2 separate regions of the Homo sapiens genome follow, and region 2 is linked to region 1. The links are contacts of gene promoters, found by promoter capture Hi-C in blood cells and fetal thymus (Javierre and others, 2016). All regions are on one chromosome and are shown on one strand. The core of a region is centred on a gene start or on the middle of the fragment in contact, and the rest is flanking DNA. Distances in the headings are between cores, read along the strand shown.

Region 1 (6,537 bases), core at 634-3,133:
TAGAATTGTGACAAGGTGAGTCTTAAGTCATGGCAGCACTTCAAAAAAAGGCAAAGTAGCTTCCTACCAGTGTGGTGTAGCAGTGAAACTGCAAGTTCTGCAGTCATAGCAGCTGGACTTGGATCTGTCTGCCCCTGACTAGGGAAGAGGCCTTGGCCATTTCCTTGATTTGTCTGAGTCTACCCAGCCATCAGTGCTCAACCCTAAAATATCTAATTGGTCAGACTGAGTGAAGAGTAAATGTTTTCTGTTCCTTCTCCTATATACTGATTAGGGGAGGCAAGCAAAATTAATAAAGGAGGAATGTTCTGTTCAGAACTATCCTTCATCCATAAGACGGATCCCTAAGACATTTTCCATCCATAAGAACTCAAGTATCGGAAACCATTCTCACCTGACCAGCCTGTCAGCCAGCGATGCTCCCCATCCACCCTGCTGGAAGGAAAACTGGAGGAAGAAAAGCCCATTATTACTACTAATGACTGTAACCGGGCATCTCAGCGAGGGCAGTTCTGATTGGCAACTTCTGTTTTCTCGGCGCTCCCTTCTTGGCTTTGATTGCTTCACTCCAGGAGGTCATTTTGGGGATTACAGGTAAGTACACCTGGCAGCACTTTAGCAGAGGGGGATTTTTCTCTATCAAAAGCTAAACAGCCTGTATTCCCAGCACTTTGGGAGGCCAAGGCGGGCGGATCACATGAGGTCTCGAGTTCGAGACCAGCCTGGTCAACATGGCGAAACCCCGTCTCTACTAAAATTACAAAAATTAGCCCGGTGTGGTGGCGCACGTCTATAATCCCAGCTACTCGGGAGGCTGAGGCAGGAGAAACGCTTGAATCCGGGAGGCGGAGCTTGCAGTGAGCCGAGATCGCGCTACTGCACTCCAGTCTGGGCGACAGAGCGAGACTCCGTCTCAAAAAAAGAAAAAAAGAAAAAAAAAAAAAAGCTAAACAGAAATCTAAGTTCAGGAAATAAAGTCAAAGGTCAGTGAGGAAATGAAGGCCACACCGCCTCACTGCTTTGCTGGTTACCGAGCTGAGGGTGAACACTTTTTCATACACATTCCCATGGAATTCGGCAGCTCTGACTGCCCCATATGCCTAAACATAATGTTACCAGTTACTGGCGTATACACAAAAGCCTGGTGAAGCAAGTCCTGTCTGAGAAGAGGACACACACAGGAATGGAATTTCTACTCCCTCCCCGAAGTAAGAACCTGCATTTAGAAGACCGTTCCCTTCATGGGAGGTGAGATGATCTTGGATGAACGGATGGTCCTTTTCTACCTAATTCCTGAAGGCGTTTTACTTCCAAGGTCAACCCCTAACGGCCCCACCTGTGCCCGCAGGGAATGGGGCGAGAGAGCTCCTGGCGCCTCTGCCCGGAGCTGGCCGCGGGGCCTCCTGGGACACAGCGCGCGGTCGCCCGCGGCCGCTAACCCGGACCCGGAGGGGAAAGGCCGCTGCCCAGGAGGGCGCTGAGGGGAAGACCGCGCATCTCGACCCGGGTGGGAGGCGGCGCGGGGCGGGCAGCGCGGCCGGGTCCCCTCGCGTCTGTGCCTGGAGCCCGGGCTCTCGCGGACGCCGTCGTGACCTCCGGGACGCCGCGGGCCCGGAAGGCGCAGCCACTGGGGGACCCGCCACTCCTCCGGTGTCTCCACGGGCGTGGCCAGGCCTCCGGCCCAGCCGTCTCGGGCGCCGAAGAGGACGGCGAGGAGCCTCGGCCTGCTCGGCAGCGACCCCGCAGGGAGGCCGGGGCGGGAGGCCGAGCGTCGGGGCGGCCGTACCTGGGTGATGGAGTCCCCGAAGAGCAACAAGCGAGGCCAGAGCAGGGCACTCCCGCAGCCCGCGGCCTCGCACAGCGCCATGGAGCAGCCGGGCGGGGCGGGGCGGGGCCGCCAGCCACGAGAGGCGCCTGCGCAGTGGCCGCCCGTGGGTTGCGGGAGCCGGGCTCGTGGGCACCCACGCAGTCACTTTGGTGACGCGCGAAGGTCGTTGCCCCTTGGAGTCCGTTTGCAAGAAGCTCGGCCTCCGCGCTTGCTCACCCACAGCAAGGCTGCCCCCAGGGAGTCCGGAGCCCGCGTCCCGCTGCGTGGTTCCCGGAAGAAAAGCGGTTGGGGGCCCTTCTAAGCCCACCCCGCGCTCCGCGGGCGCAGGTGCGTTCGGCAAAGGGCAGGAGTGTGACCTCAGGACGCGCGGCGGGAAGCACAGCTGGCTCTCGGTGGGGCGGAGGGCTGCTCCAGGCCCCCCTGGAAGAGGTCGTGGGATGCGCGCGCGGCCTCCTGCGCCCAGCGTCACTCTGGAGGGCCTGTAACACCCACGAGGACGCAGGCACTGCGGAAACCCTGGCAGTACCTCGTGGTTCTGCGAATGACAAGGGAAAGCAGCTGCACCTTCAGTGCGCGCGCAGCCGGCCGCTTTTCTTTTTCCCGCCGTGGGGTGGATGCGCAGATGCAGAACCCCGCGGACACGGAGCACTGACTAACTTCCAAGGGATTCACCTGTTAAAACGTGGTTGTAATGCAACGTTCTTACCTCAACTGTGCAATGAAGTTCGGCAGCCGAGCTAAAAACGAACGGGTGGGAAGGATGCCTTGAAATCACGGAGCTGTAGATGAGTAACAGAAGGGCCAGGGGCGCCGGCGCAGAGGCCGACCCCGCTCCCTGGGGCGGGGCGATGGGCGTAGAGCATGACTTTCTTTAGGTTGCTCGTCCCAAGCTCGCTTGGATCACCTGGGGGAGCTTTACAACTAAGATCCAACCTAGGGCCCTCATTCCAGCCGGACTAACTCACCTCCTGGTGGCAGGACTTGGGCACAGGTGCACTTGTGATGCACCCCACGTGATTCCCACGGGTAGCCCAGATTGAGAGCCCCTGCTAGAGCAAGCAAAGGTGCCTGGACTTCATCTTTATCACAAGGACTTCATTAAGGCCTTCAAGCAGCAGAGGCTTGAGGCCAGGTCTGTTCCAGGAATCAGCTATAGGGGAGGAGATGGAGGTGGTTGCAGGAATTCAGAGGGGAGAGTAGACTTGGACTCGAACAGCAGCAGTGGAGATGAAGACAGAAAAGATTCAAGTGCAACTTAGAATCCTTATTATTAACTCAAATTGGTTACCCCAGAGGAGAGGGTAACCAGCAGCGGTTGCTATCGGCAGATCTTGATGGTTTCAATGGGAGCTGCACATACATGCCTGGAAGAAGAATCCAAAATTCTAAAATAATGGGCAGTTGATCTAGTAGTTAGTTCTAGAATAATGGACAAATTAATTAGCAATTTAGCAGTATTCAGGCTGTTGAAATAAAGGCCATTTGACATTAAAAGTAAACAGGCTCCCCCAGAGAAACGAATGCATTTTATTTTAGGTAACAAAAGTAGAGTCAAGTATTTTTTCAAAGTTCATATACAGGCACAGTCTCAGTGAACTGGCGTCAGGGCCTCGTACAGTCTCTGTGCAGCCAGCTCCACCATTTCTCGGAGGGATTCATCGTCTTCACTTCCCTCTTCACATTCTACAGTCTGAAAGTGAGGCACAAACAAGACTGTTAGAATTAAGTCTATAATGATTATATAGAAGATAAATGAATACTCTTTAAAAAAACCATCATCTCATAAAAAATTAGCCAGCTGTGGTGGCGTGTGCCTGTGGTCCCAGATAAGAGTCTGAGGTGGGAGGATCACTGAGCCGGGAAGGTTGAGGCTGCAGTGAGCTGTGACTGCACCACTGCACTCCAGCCTGGGCGGCACTGCGAGACCGGGTCTCAAACTAAAAAAAAGAACAATCATCTGTGTGTGCAGAGGTCATGGTGGGACTGATTACCATGAAACAGAACGGCCGCCCTACACACTTGTGGGCGTGCAGTGCTTCCTGACAGCAGCACGGTCCTAATTAGTGATGACTTGAGGCTGGGGTGAAAGACTGGGGAAAGTCTAGTAAACTACATTTACATCAAAGCCCACAGTTTGATCTAGTAAATGATACTCCAGGGAAGTTCATCTATGCCACACAAATTACTTGGCAAGGAATGGATGTGGCTATCTACTCAACATTTGGTACTGAATTTGACTGAAACTCACTAATAATCTTCTAGTTGCTTCTTTTTTTTTTTTTTTTTGAGACAGAATCTCGCTCTGTCGCCCAGGCTGGAGTGCAGTGATGTGATCTCAGCTCACTGCAACCTCTGTCTCTTGGGTTAAGGTGATTCCTGGGTTCTCCTGCCTTAGCCTCCCAAGTAGCTGGGATTACAGGCACACCACCACGCCTGGGTAATTTTTGTATTTTTAGTAGAGATGGGGTTTCATCATGTTGGCCAGGCTGGTCTCAAACTCTTGACCTCAGATGATCCACCCACCTTGACCTCCCAAAGTGTTGGGATTACAGGCGTGAACCACCACGCCTGGCCTCTAGTTCTTTTTTTTTTTTTTTTTGGAGACAGAGTCTCGCTCTATCATCCAGGCTGGAGTGCAGTAATGTGATCTTGGCTCACTGCAACCTCTGCCTCCCTGTTTCAAGCAATTCTCCTGCCTCAGCCTCCTGAGTAGCTGGGACTACAGGCAGCTGCCGCCATTCCCGGCTAATTTTTTTTGTATTTTTTAGTAGAGATGGGGTTTAACTGTGTTGCCCGGGCTGGTTTTGAACTGTTTGGAAAATCCACTTGGATCTTGCTGGTGCAAACAGAAGAGCGGCTTCTTTAAAAAATGGAGAGTCAACTAGATGCCAAACTAGAGAAGGGATGAGGTGAACTAAGCTGTATTATGGAAGAGGACAGCAATGGAGTGGCATACACGCGAACCTTGTACTATGCAGTAACCCGGAAAAACACGGAAAACTTCAACCATAATAATATAAAAAGAACAATGTGAAAAAAATGTTGGAAACACTGGAAGCAAATGCCAATATGCAACAGTAGACTGTTGAGTGTGAGAGCACAGATTATTTATGCCTTCACTTTATTTCCCAAATGTCTTGAAACGTAGGAAAGAGCAGCTACATACCCGTGTCTCCAAGTTAAGGTTGGCAGTTTTCCCGTCCACTGTGACGCTAAGAATAGAGTCATCCTTTACACTTACACAGTCTTCTCCAAATATGTCCCTGAAAATAAGCAGAAATGCAGGATTAGTGAAAATGCCCGGCTTTATATATTTGAGGAAAAAATAAAACTGAAGATAGGTCCTAGTTCTAAAGCAGAATACTGTATTTACTTTTTTTCTTTTTTTTTTTGAGATGGAGTCTTGCTCTGTGGCCCAGGCTGGAGCGCAGTGGCACAATCTTGGCTCACTACAACCTCCGCCTCCCGGATTCAAGTGATTCTCCTGCCTCAGCCTCCCTAGTAGCTGGGATTACAGGTGTGCACCACCACAGCCAGCTAATTTTTGTATTTTTAGTAGAGTCAGGGTTTCACCATGTTGGCCAGGCTGGTCTTGAACTCCTAGCCTCAAGTGATCCACCTGCCTTGGCCTCCCAAAGTGTTGGGATTACAGGCAGGAGTCACCATGCCCAGCCTGTATTTACTTTTGAGACAAGCTTCTTATTTGCCTTGATACAGCTTATTAAGTTTATAAAACAGGGAAAATACACAGCTTTATTCAAGAATGATCTATTCAGCAGGCATCATGCTAGGTGGTTTATATACATTATCTTAACCTATAATTTTAGTAAGGATCCCCTTTTACATGTGAAGAAAACAAGACACAGAAGTTAAGTGATTTGCTTAAAGCCTCACAGCTAGTAAACAGCTGAGCCGGCATTCAAATCCAGGTATCTAGGTTTAAATGGCTCCCAAGCCCACTAGCTGTGCACTCCTACTTTAATTAAACTTGGTATTTATTGAGCATCTTCTGTGTGGCAGATTCCTTCTGTGCTAGTAGCTGGGGATAAAGAAGGCACTAAGACATTGCCTCTGTCATCGAGAGAAACAGTTTTGATGGTTAATTTCAACATCGTCCCCATTGGTACAGAGGTGTTAGGAAACAGCAGTCCACCAGCAGGCTGAATGCAGGTAAGAAAGGCAGGCAGTGACTCTAAACAACCCATGGACCATGGTCAGCCTAGGACAGTTAAGCACTGACAACACTGTATTAAGCGGGGGAAGTGGGGAGTGGGAATCAACTCCTTGCATCTTCAGGCAGTTACTGCTCATCATATGTGTGAATAAACTTAGGTGGGACCCTAGCACAAAGGAAAAGATTATATTTTATTTTATTTATTTATTTTGAGACGGAGTCTTGCTTGTTGCCCAGGCTGGAGTGCAGTGTCCCGATCTCGGCCCACTGCAACCTCTGCCTCCTGGTTTAAGCAATTCTCCTCCCTCAGCCTCCTGAGTAGTTGGGATTACAAGCACCCACCACCACACCTGGCTCATTTTTGTATTTTTAGTAGGGGTATTTTGGATGGGGTTTTGCCATGTTGGCCAGGCTGGTCTCGAACCCCTAACCTCAAGTGATCCACCTGCCTTGGCTTCCCAAAGTGCTGGGATTACAGGTGTGGGTCACCACACCCAGCCAAAAAAATTATATTTTAAACACAGAAATGTATTCA
Region 2 (6,571 bases), core at 2,854-5,353, 290 kb before region 1:
CACTAGCAGATACCTGCTAGAAAAAAACTTGCCAAAATTTGCATTCAGGCATCTTTCATTTGTTTGTCCTAGTTCTGACCTTGGTTCTCCACACCCTATATGACAAATGTGTCTTTCTGCCAAATCTTCTTCCCTTCTTCTGCCAAAATTTATCTAATTCTTTCAGCCCTTGAGTGTAGAGCCTGATTTTACTGTCCAGGGGACTTCTTCAGGCATCCTACTGTTTGCTGAGGTCACACCAAAACTGTCACCCTCCAAATGTGGTCTTTCCCCCAATTTGGGGCTTGATTCTTCTGCAGCCTGTTGACTCTGTTGAACTTTGAGTCAACTGGAGACCAAGACTGCAGATCTTCTGTCTGCTGGCTTCACTGGGACCTTCTCAGCTGCAATGAACACAGATGCCAGGCTGAGGGATTGTATTCTCATGATATGGACTTTCTGAATAAGGGGGCAGAAATGTGACTGGGCTTCAGGAACAAATGAAGCAGGGTTCTAGTTGCCTCTCTTTTCTCTTGCTTTTCTCTGCACCTTCCTTCTCGCTGAGTCTGTCTCCCAGCCAGCCTCCTCCACTTCGGGGTCACAAGACAAAACACAGCCACAGTGTCTCCGTAGCTGATGTGCTATGCTCAAGCCACCTGGAGACGCCTGGAATCTGTAAGCCCCAATTCCAAAATCATCAGGAAGGTTCTCTGGCCCAGTTCGGGTCTCTTGCCCACCTTGCACCAATGAGCCACCTGCTGTGGTTGTGGCTGCTGAGTAAAACTGGGAGAAACACGCTCATCTGTGCAAACCCAAACAATGGACTCAGAGGACAAAGAACAGCAAAAGTGAGACTTTTAATAGAGGTCTTGCAAGATCGGGTGGCCAGTAGGCAGGCACATCTGGGGCAGCTACAGCAGGTAATTTATCTCCTAGCACACAAGTCCCTCCCCCAGTTCCTCATGGTTGAGTACTGTGGGGTGACAATCTTCCTGGATGTTGCCTAAGTGCCATTATCCCCCTTATAAGGTTATACCCTGTCCTCTTCCCCTCTTAAGTTTCAATTTCCCAATAATAGAACTTTCTTCCCTTTTATGGGCTGACCCCTCTTCTACATTCTGTTTGTTTATCAAGACCTTCCAGGTGCATGAGCTGTGCCATTTGTTACATTCACGGGCTGGCTGCCAGTGCTTAGATTTATCATGCCTTGAAAGTGGACCATTTAAAATGTTTTCTGACAAAACCCTATGCAGACAGGGGTAGGTAAGAAGAAGCTTCCAGGGAAGCATTGCTGGGCAATCTTGAATCTTGATTACTTTGTCCAAACAATGTATTACCCTTTCCAGTTCTGTGTCTTTTGCCAATTTGTTGAGTGGTCTGCATGCTACACCTTCATCTTGGCTATCAGCAAAAATGTTGAATAGAACAGAGTTGAGGAGAGATCTTCTACCCCTCACTTAACATTTCCTACCAGGGGGACATGTGTCTGCTAAGTAAACCATTTGATAATGATTAGTCAGACTACAGAGCCCTGCTTAGCTGGCGATAATACAGCCATAATGACACAGGGCAGTGTGGAAATGACGTGGCACTATGGAAAATGCTTAGCATGTAGCAACGGAAAAAAGTGGCATACAAAATTAAATCATGAATATACAGGGGAAAAAAGAGAGGCTAGAAATATTTTTAAAAGACAGGTAACATGAACTATATTTAGGTAGCACAGCAGGCAGAATTCTGAAAGAGGGCTGCTTATGGGTTTTGGCCAGCCTGGATGAGATAACCTTGACTCCAGCTGGCAGGACGAGCCGCCTGTGCAGAGATCTGTCTCTTACAGCACCTGCAGGGATTCGCTGGGAATAACTGCACGCAAGCCCAGGAGGAGGCATAGGTAGAGTTAACATGGCCATGAATGTGTACAAGGTGCTAGGAATGGAATAGAGTGAGTTTGGTTATTAATTCCTGCAATTCCCTTCCAAAGCACCAAAGGCAAGGCAGCCAGTGTGGTAAAGGGAGTATTTTCCATCCTGTCTGCAGCCCTGTGCTGCTCAGCCAAATCTCGCTGACCCCTTCCCTGGGGTGTTTCATTCTCCTCATGTCCAGGGCCCTAGCGAGCCCACAGGGTCTGTCTGTGTGACTTAGAGAAGGATGCCCCTTCTGGACAGACGCAACACCATGGGCACACAGTGTGGTGAGCGGCAGGCATGCTGGAATCTAGCCCTCGCTCACCTTTCAGCTGGATGTCCTTGCACAGTGGACAACATGCACAACCGTATGTGCTGGCCCTGCCCATGTACCACACGATCTGCTCAGAAAACCTGGAAAATGCCTGATCCTGGCACAAAGCACAGCCCTTTAGTCCCAGTTCTTCGCCAGGTGATTTCCTCCAGGCCTTAGTCTTCCCGGACAAGGCCTTAGGCTTTAACAGTGGGGAAGGCCTTCTGGTGCTGCAGCCCCTGGGCGACTGCTCTCTGGGGTGAGGGCCCAGCCAGCAAGCCCATGACCATAGGACTGAGGACATCCCTTCCCCTGTACCCACCTTAGTCACCTCCCACCCGGCACTAGTGGGTCCTCACCAATTTTATTTGAATTGAGCCTAGTTCATTCTGGAGGTTGAGACTAAACATCCTTATTGAGCAGGTGTCTTGGAGACCCCCGAAGGCCACAGGCTTATTTTTGCCCCAAGAGTGCAGTAAGATCCTAAAATTGAAGTGATCTTTCTTGCCCTCCTAGACTGACTAAAAGTCCTGGTGGAGACAGGCTGAGGAGTCCTGCACTTACGTCTGAATGTTCTGTTAGTTGGGTTTTCACATTCAGAGTACACTGTGGAGATAATCACCTTCTAGCTTTCTGGAAACTTCCTAGGTTTACTCCCTGGTGCATTGCTCCTCCAAGTTATAATTCTAGAAACTCATTCCTTTGCCTTTGGCAATAATAACCCAGATCCCGGGACTCCAAATGGAAAAGAACAGGCTGCATTTCCAGACTTCTGGTGTGGAGGGGGAAGCCAGACAGAATCATTCTGGCTGTGAGCTGCAGCGGTGCTGTCCATGCCAGGCCAAATGCATCAATCCCTAATGATGACTTGAAGCGTTATTAGGATCCAGGTGACCTCGTCATCACAATCCTCTCTGAGCGGTAAAACTGGAAAAAAAAAATAAGGCAGATTGTGCTTGGGACTAGGGAGCCCCTGAGACGAGTTACACCCAGCACTTCCAATGTCTGGGAGCCCCCAGGAAGCACCCTTTGGAGAAAGCGTAAGTCAGTTCCCTAAAAGGAACTAAAGATGTGTTCCATCCCACTGTGCAAACCAAATTAATGCTGCATGCTGAAGGCCTTCCTTGCCAAGATAGAGGTGGATTTCTATTAGTCACTGAGGGCCATTTGCCTGGATGCAAATGGCCTTGCTGAGCTGGTGCGATGTCCAGCTGGGGGTTTTGGGGAGCAGTCAGCCCCGTGCATGTGTATTTAATAGTCATCAGGGCTTTCTCTTTTGGCTTCGAGGCTAAGCTTATTATCCAAGGAACAAATGGAATATGAAGGCTGCCTCAGCACCGCCAGAGCCCATTAGGAGATGTGCTATGAAGCAAAGGCGGCGCGTTGACAGGGCTGCAGAGAAAGAACTTGGAAGCAGAGGCAGGAAAGGGAGGGCGGCTTCCGTCCCAGCATCCCTGAAATGGCTTGCTGTGAGTTCAGCAAGCCACACTGACACCACGCACCTTCCCCGTGCCTGGAGCTCATCTGCAAACAGATTATCTTGCAGACAGAACCTCCAAAGGGCCCTGTCATCCTACAGCACATCGTCATTCTCACTCAGAAGCAGGGGACGTGGGGCCTTTTGTCTAACACTCAACAACATAAACGTCTGTTTTCTGTTTTTCTCCCCTCTACTCTTTAGACAATAAACAAGAACCATCTGACATTTTTCTTAGCTTGTATATTTCAAACTCAATCCACCTTAAGCATCCTACCTGACCCTCCCCAACCCTCCTTCCCTCCCGTGTTCTCTTTCCCTTTGGAGTCCTTACAAACTCTCCCTCTAGTTCGATGGTTCAGAGAAGACTGAGAGCTGGGCCTGGGCCTTGAAAACTTCCCAGTGGTTTTCTACTGCACTCACACCCTCAGGCACCTGGTGGGGTAGATCCCACCTTTTCGATGTCCCCTTCTCTCCACCGCGGCCACCTACTCAGACCACTTGCGCTTTGCACCTGGAGCATGACAGTAGTCTCCTAACTGTCCCTGACCACAAGCCACACCCTCTGCCATCTTTCCTCTGTTTGCTGCCAGAATGATGTTTCTGAAATACACAAGAGACCTTGTGGCTATCTTTCTCCCTCCCTCTCTCTACCCCTGCTTTCCTCCCGCCTCTACCCTCCTCTACTCCCTCTTTCTACCCCTGCTTTCCTCCCGCCTCTACCCTCCTCTAGTCCTTCTTTCTACCCCTGCTTTCCTCCCGCCTCTACCCTCCTCTACTTTCTAAGCATCTGCTATGACCAGCCATTGTTCTAGGTTTACAGATCTACAGGGTGGGGCAAGAAGACATCATATCCTCTGTCTTTTGGAGATCATAGAAACATTTGCTCTGGGGAAATGCTAAGTAGCAACCTACACCATTAATTGTTTAAAAACGACTGTGACTCAGTGCCAGGAAGAAGACTTTGTAAAAGGTAATGTGAAAATGTTTTCCCTGCTCAGAATCTTCCAGTGGGATGAACATGATGTGTCAATGCAAGCTTATTATTGTAACAAATGTACAACTCTGGTGGGGGCAGGGGCTCTATGGGAACTCTCTGTACCTTCTGCTCAATTTTGCTGTAAACCTAAAACTGCTCTTTATAAAAGGTCTTCTTTTTTTAAGTCTCCCAGTGGCTCAGCATACAAAACCCATGACAGAGGGCTGGGCTGAGCTTTTCCCACATCCACTGTGTTCCCTAAGGTCCGTCTCCGCAAACCACTCCTTGTTTGAGTACCCAATGCTCCCGTGCCCCAGTTCCTTCAACAGCCTCTCTCTACTTCCTGCATCTTCTTTTCCTTCCCTTGGCTACCTTCTCCTTTGAGAAACTCAGATGTCACCTCCTCCAAGAAGCCCTCCCTGATATAACCAGGCTGGATTAGGTGCCTCCCCTCTGTGCTCCCAGACCTCCCTCTGCCTGTCACTGTCATTGCATCACCTTGTAACTGTACATATCTGCCACTGCCACCAACTCCCACTGAACTAAGAGTGCCCTTAAATAGGGACAAACAGAATCTTTTAGCATAGTTACTGAAACACATGTAGGCTTCAGTAAATGAATGGATGCAAAATAAAGCTAATAGTATCTGGTTAGAAAAATAGATATCTTTGAGTTTTTACTAAAGTTCTAGGGATTGCAAGAATGAGCTTCCTGCCTACCTTTGCCTCTAACAGCAATGCTGCAGTTGAACCTGACAACCTGTTACCATGATGTAGAGAAGCCAATGCAACAGAAGAGAGTAATGTTTAATCTAGTCTTTGTGACTTGGCTCTCGTATCACTAAAAATTGTATTTGTGATAAGTAAATAAGAGTCATTAAACATCAAATGCAATTTAAGTGCTCCGGAAGGCATGCTCCTGGGTTTCAAAACCTCTGTGGATGTAAAGAACCCCCTAGAATAGGAGTTGGACAGTCCTGGGCTCCTGGTCAACTCCCACACTCAGTCCTTAAGGTGGAGGTCACATTGTGCTCCCTCACAGGTGGTCCAATGAGACCATGTGGGTGGAAGCACTTTGTAAACATAGGGGCTCAACAAATGCTAAATGTCACTCATGAAATTGCATCCTAAAGCAAATAAATAAGCACACTTCTTTTGTCTAAATAGCTATGTGTAGCCTTGGAGTTCTGGCTAGGGAGTCACCCAACCCCTGGTTTTGCCCCTTGTGGCAACATCTGAGATGCTGGATACAAAGTTGGATACAAAGCAGGGTGGGGTCTGTTCTGTAAAGAGCTACAGGCAGCTGAGGGCTCAGAACGGTGGACACTGTTGGAGAGACCAGAGAGGTGAAGTGAGGAGACTCCCTTCCTTCTTTCTTTCTTTTCCAGAACCCACATTGACCAGAGACTTTGCAGCCAGCTCACCCCTCCAAATCCCCGCCCTGGAGTCCCTGACCCAGGAATTTCTGCATCAGGCTGCTCAAACCTGAATTTGACAAAATTTCAAAGCGCTGTATCTTTATGTTGATAAGACAACGGATAAAGTGCCATACTTGGAACCTAGATCACTCAATGTTGCCTGTAGCTGAGTCCACTTCTGTCACTCACCCTGCATTGCCCTGCCAGGAGCAAGGGAGAGAAAGCCAGCCAGAAGGCATGGGCATGGGCTCAAATCTGGCTTCTCCTGTGGCCACTGTGAAAGTTGATCATACAAAGGTCACTGTTGTCATAGCCAAGCAGAGTTATGAGACCACAGGAAAAAGCACTTGGACCACGTAACATTGCTCCAAGAGTATAACTGTCTCCAACCCTGGCTGCTGGAACAAGTGTTGCAACCTGAAACCGGTTTGATCTAATAGCTACAGAAACAACCTGCGGAAATCTAAGACTAGTTTCACCCACTCACCAATCAGAGCTTGCC

Evidence for each region. Contacts are between HindIII fragments. The CHiCAGO score rates a contact against its expected background, and 5 or more counts as called.
Region 2: a fragment that was not itself captured here is called in contact with the fragment with the promoter of IAH1 in region 1 in 1 of 17 cell types (activated CD4 T cells); the score reaches 5.4 in activated CD4 T cells.

What each region holds. Positions count from the first base shown.
Region 1 is chr2:9,469,897-9,476,433 of GRCh38, reverse strand. It overlaps IAH1 (isoamyl acetate hydrolyzing esterase 1 (putative)), which reads right to left and starts at 1,883. Exons shown (of 6, transcript NM_001039613.3): 1 at 1,787-1,883; 2 at 395-447. The coding sequence starts at 1,867. CPSF3 (cleavage and polyadenylation specific factor 3) reads right to left here. Exons shown (of 18, transcript NM_016207.4): 17 at 4,995-5,091; 18 at 3,333-3,518. The coding sequence ends at 3,417. RefSeq lists enhancers at 264-824, 1,305-2,072 and a silencer at 1,342-2,111. The HindIII fragment of the contact is 7,765 bases long and covers 1-5,525 here.
Region 2 is chr2:9,758,768-9,765,338 of GRCh38, reverse strand. LOC100996549 (a long non-coding RNA gene) reads left to right here. Exons shown (of 3, transcript XR_241267.4): 3 at 6,040-6,571. Among named protein-coding and RNA genes, the nearest start is that of TAF1B, 81 kb to the left of the region's middle. RefSeq lists an enhancer at 1,385-1,679. The HindIII fragment of the contact is 1,223 bases long and covers 3,492-4,714 here.